Linked DNA regions of Homo sapiens: region 2 is linked to region 1. Evidence: promoter capture Hi-C in 16 types of primary human blood cells and fetal thymus (Javierre and others, 2016). All regions are on one chromosome and are shown on one strand. Each heading gives the region's core, a stretch centred on a gene start or on the middle of the fragment in contact. The rest is flanking DNA. Distances are from core to core; before and after follow the strand shown.

Region 1 (4,628 bases), core at 1,215-3,714:
GCAAAGTCTCCTCCAGACTTTGCTGGAGTTGACTAGCATCTCTCAGCAAAGTGAGGGAGTACTGGAAGCAGAGAAGGCTCTAGATATCAGAAGGTCGGTTAACGTGGAGGCACAGCAGCAAATGGAGCCAAGAGGGATGAAGGCAGCAAAAATTTCCAAAAGGAACTGGAGATCTGGATGTGATCAGCTTCAGGGGGCTAACTGGGATGAGAGAATTGATATATCCGGCTCCTTCTCATTTAGAGAAAACAGTCAGCTCAGGCCTGGCTTATAGATTAAGGACCAGTCACCTGGATCCAACCACACAGAGGAAATAGTGGTGGATATAAAGGAGCTTATTTCCCCTCTCAGGATACCGGGGTAGAAAAGCGGAAGGATCAGACACTTGCAGAGGAGAAAAGAGAAGTCACTGTGCTTGTCCACTGTCCTGGCTAGTAATAGCAACGGTCAAGGCCAGAGGTTACGTGTAATGAAGACAGTGGAGCTAACTGATTTCGTCCAGCTGCAGGTCTAGGTGCGGCAGGCCATCTTTTTCACCCTTATCCACCCGGCACCCACTGAGGAGGGACTGTTCTAATAAAGATGGCTTCAGTAGGCCACTGCGAGTCAAGGCTGGGTCTGTCTCCAAAGTGAGTTTGGTTTTTCTTTATGAAACCTCTGGTCACGAGAATATGAGAGTTTCCACTCTGGTTCTGAACTATGGGTCATCAATCCTAATGGGTTATGGGTTCCAGCTGTGAGATTTGCTGTCCCTGTTTGGGATTACAAAAAGTAAATGAAGCTCTCCAGTTAAGACCAGGTGTGGGCAGTCAGAGCTGAGAGGCCAGGAGTGTCCCTCTGAAGAAGGTGGTGACCGCAGAGAAAGTGGTGCTGGGCCTGAATCACTGGTGGGCAGAGATGGTGCCTGCCAGTCCTGAGCCAACCTCTTTGGAGCCCACTCCACAGAGATAAGAGCAACAGCAGCCCTGAAAGCACCTCAAGGACTTCTGCTGCAACCGAGGCTTCCCACTGCATTTCCCCCTTACAGACTCTCCAGTAATTCTTTAGACTCTGTAAGTATGGCATGTGTATTTCATTGAAAAAGTAATGTAAGCATGCTCTAGAAAACCCAGGAAAGAACTACCCACACCACCACCACCGAAAAGTTAATTAGATACAATCAGAGTTTTCCTCCACTGGACCTTATCCATCTTAGTTCACAGTCTCAGAGTTAGGACTTGAGGCATTTGTGGAAGTAAATCAACTAGAGCACCCTTAAGACTTTATTCAAAAATGCTAGGCATGAGTAATTTCAGAGAGAATATTCTCACTTGGAGAAGCAGCGTGAGCCAGACAGAATTTTTAATAAGGATTTAGGAGGCAGGGTCAGCTGAAGTTCAACTGGTTTAGGGAATAGTGCAAAGATGGTTCTAAGAAATATGAGGAATTGTTTCTAAGGATGATGAACTACTGTTTGGGATTTTTACCGAGAGGGTGAGGAGGAATAGTTAGGAGCTGTGGCCATATGGAAGAAGGGTGGGGAGAAATATTACCGGGCATAAGGAAGTTTAAGGACCACCAGTGGAAAATTCTCAGTCTATGTGTCTCTTTTAAAAAAATTTTGTGGATACATAGTAGGTGTTTATGGGGTACGTGAAATGTTTTGATAAAGGTATCTATTAGCGTCTCTTGTGAGGACCAAATGGAAACACAGGCCTTCTGACTCCTGGAGAGCATTCTTTTCACATTCCATAGATGCCCCAGCCTTTCTCAGTTTGGCAGGTGATTGAGAAAGAACCCCAAGGCGTCCTGGCCTTTCCCATGGAAAGGCAGGTTGAGATAAGAAGAGGGCTGGACTGCACAGACAAATTCAAAGATTTTACCACCTTGTCCTAGGGTTATAATTTATCTTCAATTGGACCAGGGCCTGCAGGAGTTTAGTCCTACATATTTCTGGCCTGCAGCTACATGAAGGGAATTCTGCCTCCAGTGATTGAGAAAACTCAAGGATTTCCTTACAAAGGCGTTTCACTTTTTGATGGCTTGACCCTGGAAGCATCACTGTATCAATGATTGTTGTTGTTCCTCTTAATCAAATTATTCTCAGCTCCATCCTGAGATGTTTCAGCTGACAGCCTGGATGGCCAGGCCTGTAGCCCATTGTACCTTTCTGCCCAAGGGGCGATGTAGCCCTGTGCACTGGCTGTTCAGAGATAGTGGTAGATCCATGTTTATTTTTCCTGGCTGTGCCTTTAAGAGCTGCAGGAATGTGAAGGGAGTCTGGATGAGGGGTGGGGTCTCCCAATAGGACTTCTGGAAAAGGATCCTGGGAATTTTTGCCAGAAACTAAACTGAGAGTCCAACTTTAAAAAGTTGGGGGTGGTTTGTGTTGGGGAAGGCCTGCGATTGGACTGCAGAATCCACTAGGGAGGAGGAAAGCAAAAGTAAAAAGGAAATAGCTGGGGGAAGGGAACGGGGGGAAGCCATCTTCACCCCCCACCCCAATGCACACACAATTAAGCCAGGAAGCAGCTTGCAACCACTAGCCTGGGGAGGGTCCGCATGTGTCAAGGGTGAGGGCAACAGATGCTGGACCCAGGGAGCTCTCTGCCACAGGTCAGTCTACAAGGCCTCAGGGACCAACTTGCCAACAGCTGGACTTGATCACTAGCTGGCAAACTGAGCTCACGTATCGGGTGGAATAACAAGCGGACTTTGCTCTCTGCTGTGCAAAACGCTGTTTTTAGAGGATTTGCCACAGCAGCGGATAGAGCAGGAGAGCACCACCGGAGCCCTTGAGACATCCTTGAGAAGAGCCACAGCATAAGAGACTGCCCTGCTTGGTGTTTTGCAGGATGATGGTGGCCCTTCGAGGAGCTTCTGCATTGCTGGTTCTGTTCCTTGCAGCTTTTCTGCCCCCGCCGCAGTGTACCCAGGACCCAGCCATGGTGCATTACATCTACCAGCGCTTTCGAGTCTTGGAGGTAGGTGGCATCTGTACACCTTGGATAAGTAACAGGCTTCCCAGAAGTACCTTATTTTTACCCATGCTTCTCTATCTACTGGGTTGTATTTTTCCCAGATAGCAAATGACACATTGCCAAAGTTACACTTTAAAATGCTCATAGTCTGGCAGTTTAGAGCCGAACTCCAGAGTCCAGTGTGCTACTTCCAGACCTTAAGCACAGTTGCACTTTGTGCTCTGATTTGGCAGTTTGTCTCATCTGTAAAATGGGGATAATAGTAGAATTTATGTTGTAAGGCTATCCTGAAGATTTAATCCATAGCTAAAATACTGCCTGGCATAATGGTATGTATCTAAAATGTTATTATTCACCATAGTTCATTTTTTAAAATATGAAACTTAAAAATGTTGGTTACTTTTTCTTCATGTTTTAGTGTTTCAGGCTGATAATGGATTTCAGCTTTTCGTTTTGTCTTTTATGATAAACCATTAGGTCACTGTAAAAAGTCATGATATCAATGTACTGAGAAGTCTTAGTTTCTTTTGCTGAACTGGATTTAGACTTAGAAGTGAGCAGATTTCAGCCAAGTTAAACAGAAAGAATGCATTTGGGCTGCCACCTCATTAAAATGTGCAAAACCCAACATTTTGGCAGCCTGGACAGGCTCCCAGGGACAAATGTAACCCTCCACCCTAGCCTTTGCCACACCCTGGCATTGATTATTCATACTTAATGGCTTGCTTTTGTACAAGCTAAATTGATAAATTATTTATCTTCTTTCAAAGACCCTCTTATTGCTAATAATTATTTTATACATTTTCCTGAAAAATCTTCATGTCCAAATTATATGTTCTTCTAGTTATAGTCAGGGTAAAGTAATTCCACATAGCAGGCCGAATGCATTTCCTAAGGGCGTCCAGCCAACAGGCTGGGGCCTGGAGGCAGTGGATGAAGTGTTCCCAGACGAGCGGCCTCTTGCGCTTCTTCACTTGCTCCCTCCTGAGCCTCACCTCCTTAGAAGTGCCAGAATGATGCTCAGTCAGGATCCCTCTGCATTTAGCACCGACTTGCCTTGGGAGTAAAGCCAGCCAAATCCCTGCAAATTGTCTTTCACTACCTTAAGAACTTGTCAAGGGTATGAAGTACAGACTGATCCTTTTATAGCTATGAATGTGGATTTGAAAAAGACAAGGATATGATCTGTATAGATCTTCCCACCCCAGTCCTGACCTGAGGTGAAGCCAAGTCGCAGGTGGCAGTCACTGTTGGCCAGCGCAGACACTTAACAATACAGTGATAGCATTCCCAGCCTGAGAAGCCAGTGTCGGAGGGGTAGGAAAAAAGAGGGTAGGGATTTAGGGAATTATTTTGGGTCTCTCTTTCTGTCTTTCTCCCTTCAAAATAAACAGCCTTACGTATTGTTGTTTGGAGCATACATTTTTACATTTGTGGATAGAATTTTGATAAACCATGCCAAATGAGCTTTAAGTAGACATTCTCTTTGACCAAGCAATCCCATTTCCATTCATTTATTCTTTTGTTCAGCAAATATTTATTGAATAGTATTATGTGCTTGGCCCTGTGCCAAGTGCTAGGGACGGATATTCTGGAAATCTACCTTAAAATAATCTGATGAAGATGTAAATACAAAGGTTTTTTTTTCCCTTAATAATCTGATGAAGA
Region 2 (4,628 bases), core at 961-3,460, 360 kb before region 1:
ATTCTTGCTTCTTCCTCTCATTCTTCAATCATTTTCTCATAGGCTGTTTTGCAAGTCTTCAAGTCTTCTAGGCATCCCTTGGATGTTTTTGTTTTCAGGATCTGTTCTCGGCTGTCTCTTCTCTTTTCACAGAACAAAATTCTCTAGGTTGTATAATCGATTATTGCAGTTTCCACTACCACTAATACACTAGTGACTTTCAGAGTTTTATCTTCAGTCTTGTTCAATTGGGAGCGTCAGACCTACTGCTCAGTTCATATATCTTACTGGATATACAACAGGCAACTCACATGGTTATGGACTGAATGTCTGTGTCCTTCCGAAATTCATACATTGAAAAATCCCAACCCCCAGTGCAGTGGTACTGGGGGAGGGTCTTTGGGAGGTAATTAGGTCATGAGGGTGAGGCCCTCAAGAGTGGGATTAGTACCCTCATTAGAAGATACACAAGGGAGGTGATACCTATTTCTGCTATTTGAGGATATAATTAGAAGATGGGCATTTGTAAACCTGGAACAGGGCCTTCACCAGAACCCAACTATACTGGCACTCTGATCTTAGACTTCCAGTCTCCAGAACTGTGAGAAATGAATGTTTATTCTTCAAGCCACCTAGTCGATGGTAATTTGTTATAGCAGCCTGAGCTGGCTAAGAGAGAGACTCAAGAAGTCACAAGCTGAATTCATCATCTTCTTTCTAAAACACCCTCTCTATACTCTACCAGTGAATGTTACTACCATGATCTCAGTCTCCTATGCAGGGATCATAGATGTCCCTGTATGTTTCAAGTTTTTCCACGTTCTCCATCTCTAATTATCATTAAAACATATTGATTCTATCTCCTTAACACTTCTGCATCCACCTTCTTATTTCCATTCACATGGCTATTGCCTTGGTTCAGTGCCTTCTAGATCCCTTCCCTGATATATCACAGCAGTCTTTTAACTATTTGCCACCTTCAGTGTAGCCCCATTTCAATTTTAATCTCAATGCTTCAGACAAAGTGGCATTTTAAAAACTCACATTTAGAACTAAAATATCTCTCATGTTAAAACTAGACAATAGCTCCCCATTAACTATTGAATAACTTTTAAACATTTTTGTAAATAATGTATAAAGCTTGTATCCTGCATATTGTACAGCTTTATCTCTCATTGCAGTTCTCTCTGCAGGTTTTGTCTTCTGCTTAAAATTTTCTGAATAGAAAAATCTGTTTCATACCTCCATATCTTTGTTCGTGCTGTGCACTCTACCTGTACCTTCTCTGTCTCTTCTCTTTGCCAGATATAATTTTAAGGGCTGAACAGTGATTAGCTTATACATAAAGTCTTTCCTAACCACCCCCTCCATCTTTTGTATGTACACTGAACCTTATGCAGCCTTGGATTATCACTCACATGTTCCACCAACACGGCAGTTCTAAGGCCCTGGTCTGTTTACATTATTGTTCTTACTCTTCTGATGCTTAATTGCAAAAATGTCTATTCCTGCGAGACTGCAAGGCCTGGGTGGAGGAGGCATTTAGGGCCTAGGAGACAGCATTGGCTAATGGATCCTGTGGGGCTGGAGCTAAAAAGGCATTGTTTATAAATAAAGGAAATGGCCAAAAGTAACGGGAGCCAAGTTTCTCACTGTAAGAGAAAGGATATTCAATAATTTAAAGGGTGAAAATTAGAACAGAATGGTGTTCCATCAGAATTGGAGATACCAGTATGATGAACTCTTGAGAGAGATATATATTTATATTATACACACACACAAACACACACACACACGAGAGAGAGAGTGAAAGAAAGGAAAAGGACATAGCCCTGTATGTGCATGTGTAGATAGATACATGTGTGTGTGTGTACATTTTCTATATTTTCTAGCTTTTTCTGCTGAGACAGCCTAAAAGCAATGGAGCCCCAGCAGCAAAGAACACACATAGTGTCCAGATCTGGACTTATATATGTATGTTTCTCCAATAAGAGAAACAAAGACTTTTTAGAGAAATGTTTAATTCCAGGGCTGGGGCAAGGAAAGTACAAGATGAGCCCAAAATATCTTGATTTGTCATAAAACAAGAGAATGATTAAAAACAATGTGGACTTATCAAAATGACACAGTAAGCAGCCAGAAGGACCACTGGGAGAGTTTCAGCATCAAAATAAATAAAGATAGTAATGAATTATAACCTATTGATTAAAATAAGGATCAGTGAGTCCATAGTGAGATAAATGATTAAAGAAATATGGGAGAAGCAAAAGCTCTTTCTTACAGTACAGAATCAACTAGTAAATGTAGAAGGAATGATAGAAAGTTAGGAAGTCATTATTAGCAAACATCATAGTAATTATTTAGGCATGAATCATCAATAGAGTATAAAACTAGTGGGTAAAAGTTTGATGAGGAATAAGATATTAATGTAATATCAAAGGATCTCTCCACAAAATACTTAATTGTAAAGGGAAGACTACAAATTTATAGTGAAGAAATTTGGCAAGCACCACCTTTATCTAGTGATAAAAATTAACATCATTTAGAATGATACAAATCAACATTGTCTTCTTGTTATGATCTGCTGAGAAGAACATAGCATCATTTCTGTGATGTTCCTGCCATAAATGCATAACCTGAATCTAATATTGAAGCAGCATTATTAAACTCAAGTTGAGGGGAATTCTACAAAATAGCTAGCTTGTACTATTCAAAAATGTCAACATCATGAACGAGAAAAGACAGAAACTGTTTCAGACGGAAGAAAATGAAAAGTGACAACGGTAGCATTTTATCTCAGGCAGAACTTGAACCAGAATATTCTTGTACTTTCCTTTGCTATAATGTACAATATTGGGACTATTTGTGAAATTTGAATGGAATTTGTGAATTTTATGGTCTCAATGTTCATTTTCTCAATTTTGTACTTATATAGGAGAGTGTCCTTTTCTTAGAGATATAGGCATAATGGATTATCATGGCTTCCACTTATTTTCAACTGGTTTGGGGGGAAAATGTGTGTGTGTGGATAAAGGCAGGGTGGAGTGGGGAGAGAGAATGGCAAAGAAATTGTGTCAAATGTTAACAATTGGGAACCCTGACAAGGCATACTGAAATTCTTTTTACTCATCTTACAACCTTTCTCTAACTTTGAAATTATTATAAAATAAAATGTTTTTAATCACTATTTCTTTGCCACTTTTTGTACTTCAATTTTCTTTCCCAACTTCAACTACCTTCTAGTGATCTTCAAAGGCTCATGGAAATAAATTTATAAAATACAGAAATGAATTCATTAAAATAAGAAGTGTAACATGGTGTTTAAGCTTTTGTGCTCTTGAATCAAACTTCCTGAGTTCAAAATTCCAACCCATATGTGGTTTTAAGGCAAATCACTTAACTTCTCCATGTCTATTTTCTCATCTGTACAATAGGAATGATAAAAAAAAAAAAAAGCTCACTTTATGATTGGGGAGAATTAAGTCATTCAGCATATTTAAAACACATAGCACAGTGCCCAGCACATGGTAAATAATTAATGTATATTCAAAAAATTTTGAAGGACTTATTGAGAAAGATTACTGCAGAAAAAAGCTGATTTGTGTAGCATTTTGTTTACTAGAATCTCTGTAGAACCTGAGTGGCTGACAATCCTAAAGAACCTCCATATCCACATAATAATAATTTAATATCTGCAAGCCATGAAAATCTGAGCAGAAGACTGAGGAATCAATCCACGTGAGAATTTTAATTATAAGAATGAGTGGGTTTTCTTATTAACATACTTAAAAACCACTGCCACCACTGCCCAGATTCATCAGACAGTAGGGAGGATGGGGAAGCATAAGGCAGCTACTTTTACTGAGATTCAGAACGGAACAAACCCTGGATACTGCAGGCAATGCCCAATAGTTTTTCCATGAGCTATTTAAAAACTGGAGAAGTATTGGATTTTATGAGGTCAGTCAGTGAAGCAGAAAAAGCTCAGTTTGCCTGTGATGCTCCTGGAATACAAGTAATATATCTGCATTGCAGCAGAGGAGCAATGTAGGGAAGGAAATGTAAGAAAACTGGGTGAAGAGAAACACAATTAAAATCACATGCTCCAAGCTCTCAGTCTAAAATAAAATCCTTCTCAAGTTATTGTCTTTGAAGGACATTATGGCAGTCAAGAGCACTGGTTTTATAGCCAGACAGATCTAAATGTGAATCTTGGCTTTGTCACTTGATGCTCAACAGTTAATCTTGAATAAGTTACAGAACCTCTCGAAGACTTAGATACCTGAAATAGAAAATGGGATGATAGAACTTGCCTCAGAGTTTTATGTGAGCACCAAATGAGGTAATATTAAAATGACTGTCACACGTGTTCAGTACACATATTTATTGCTCCTTTTCTGACAGAAAGCATGAAGCAACAAGAAAAAAAGACAAATTTGGGAAGAAAAAGTTTTTATTTATTTTTCACTATTAAGTTAATATTCTTGTAGTTTTTTGTTAACTTTTTATTTAGAGATATACATTATTAATATAATACATTAAGAAATAAGAAAATATTAAATTATTAAGAAATAATACAGAAATATTCCAGTTTGAAGAACCTTTATTCAATTTAGTCAGTTTAGAGTAACCCTCATTAAACTCTTCCA

Evidence for each region. The method cuts DNA at HindIII sites, captures the fragments that hold promoters and counts their contacts. A CHiCAGO score of 5 or more calls a contact.
Region 2: a fragment that was not itself captured here is called in contact with the fragment with the promoter of OLFML1 in region 1 in 1 of 17 cell types (endothelial precursors); the score reaches 8.4 in endothelial precursors.

What each region holds. Positions count from the first base shown.
Region 1 is chr11:7,483,042-7,487,669 of GRCh38, forward strand. OLFML1 (olfactomedin like 1) reads left to right here and starts at 2,465. Exons shown (of 3, transcript NM_198474.4): 1 at 2,465-2,963. The coding sequence starts at 2,835. RefSeq lists an enhancer at 2,142-2,646. The HindIII fragment of the contact is 6,703 bases long and covers 1-4,628 here.
Region 2 is chr11:7,118,814-7,123,441 of GRCh38, forward strand. No RefSeq gene overlaps it. Among named protein-coding and RNA genes, the nearest start is that of RBMXL2, 32 kb to the left of the region's middle. The HindIII fragment of the contact is 2,186 bases long and covers 1,118-3,303 here.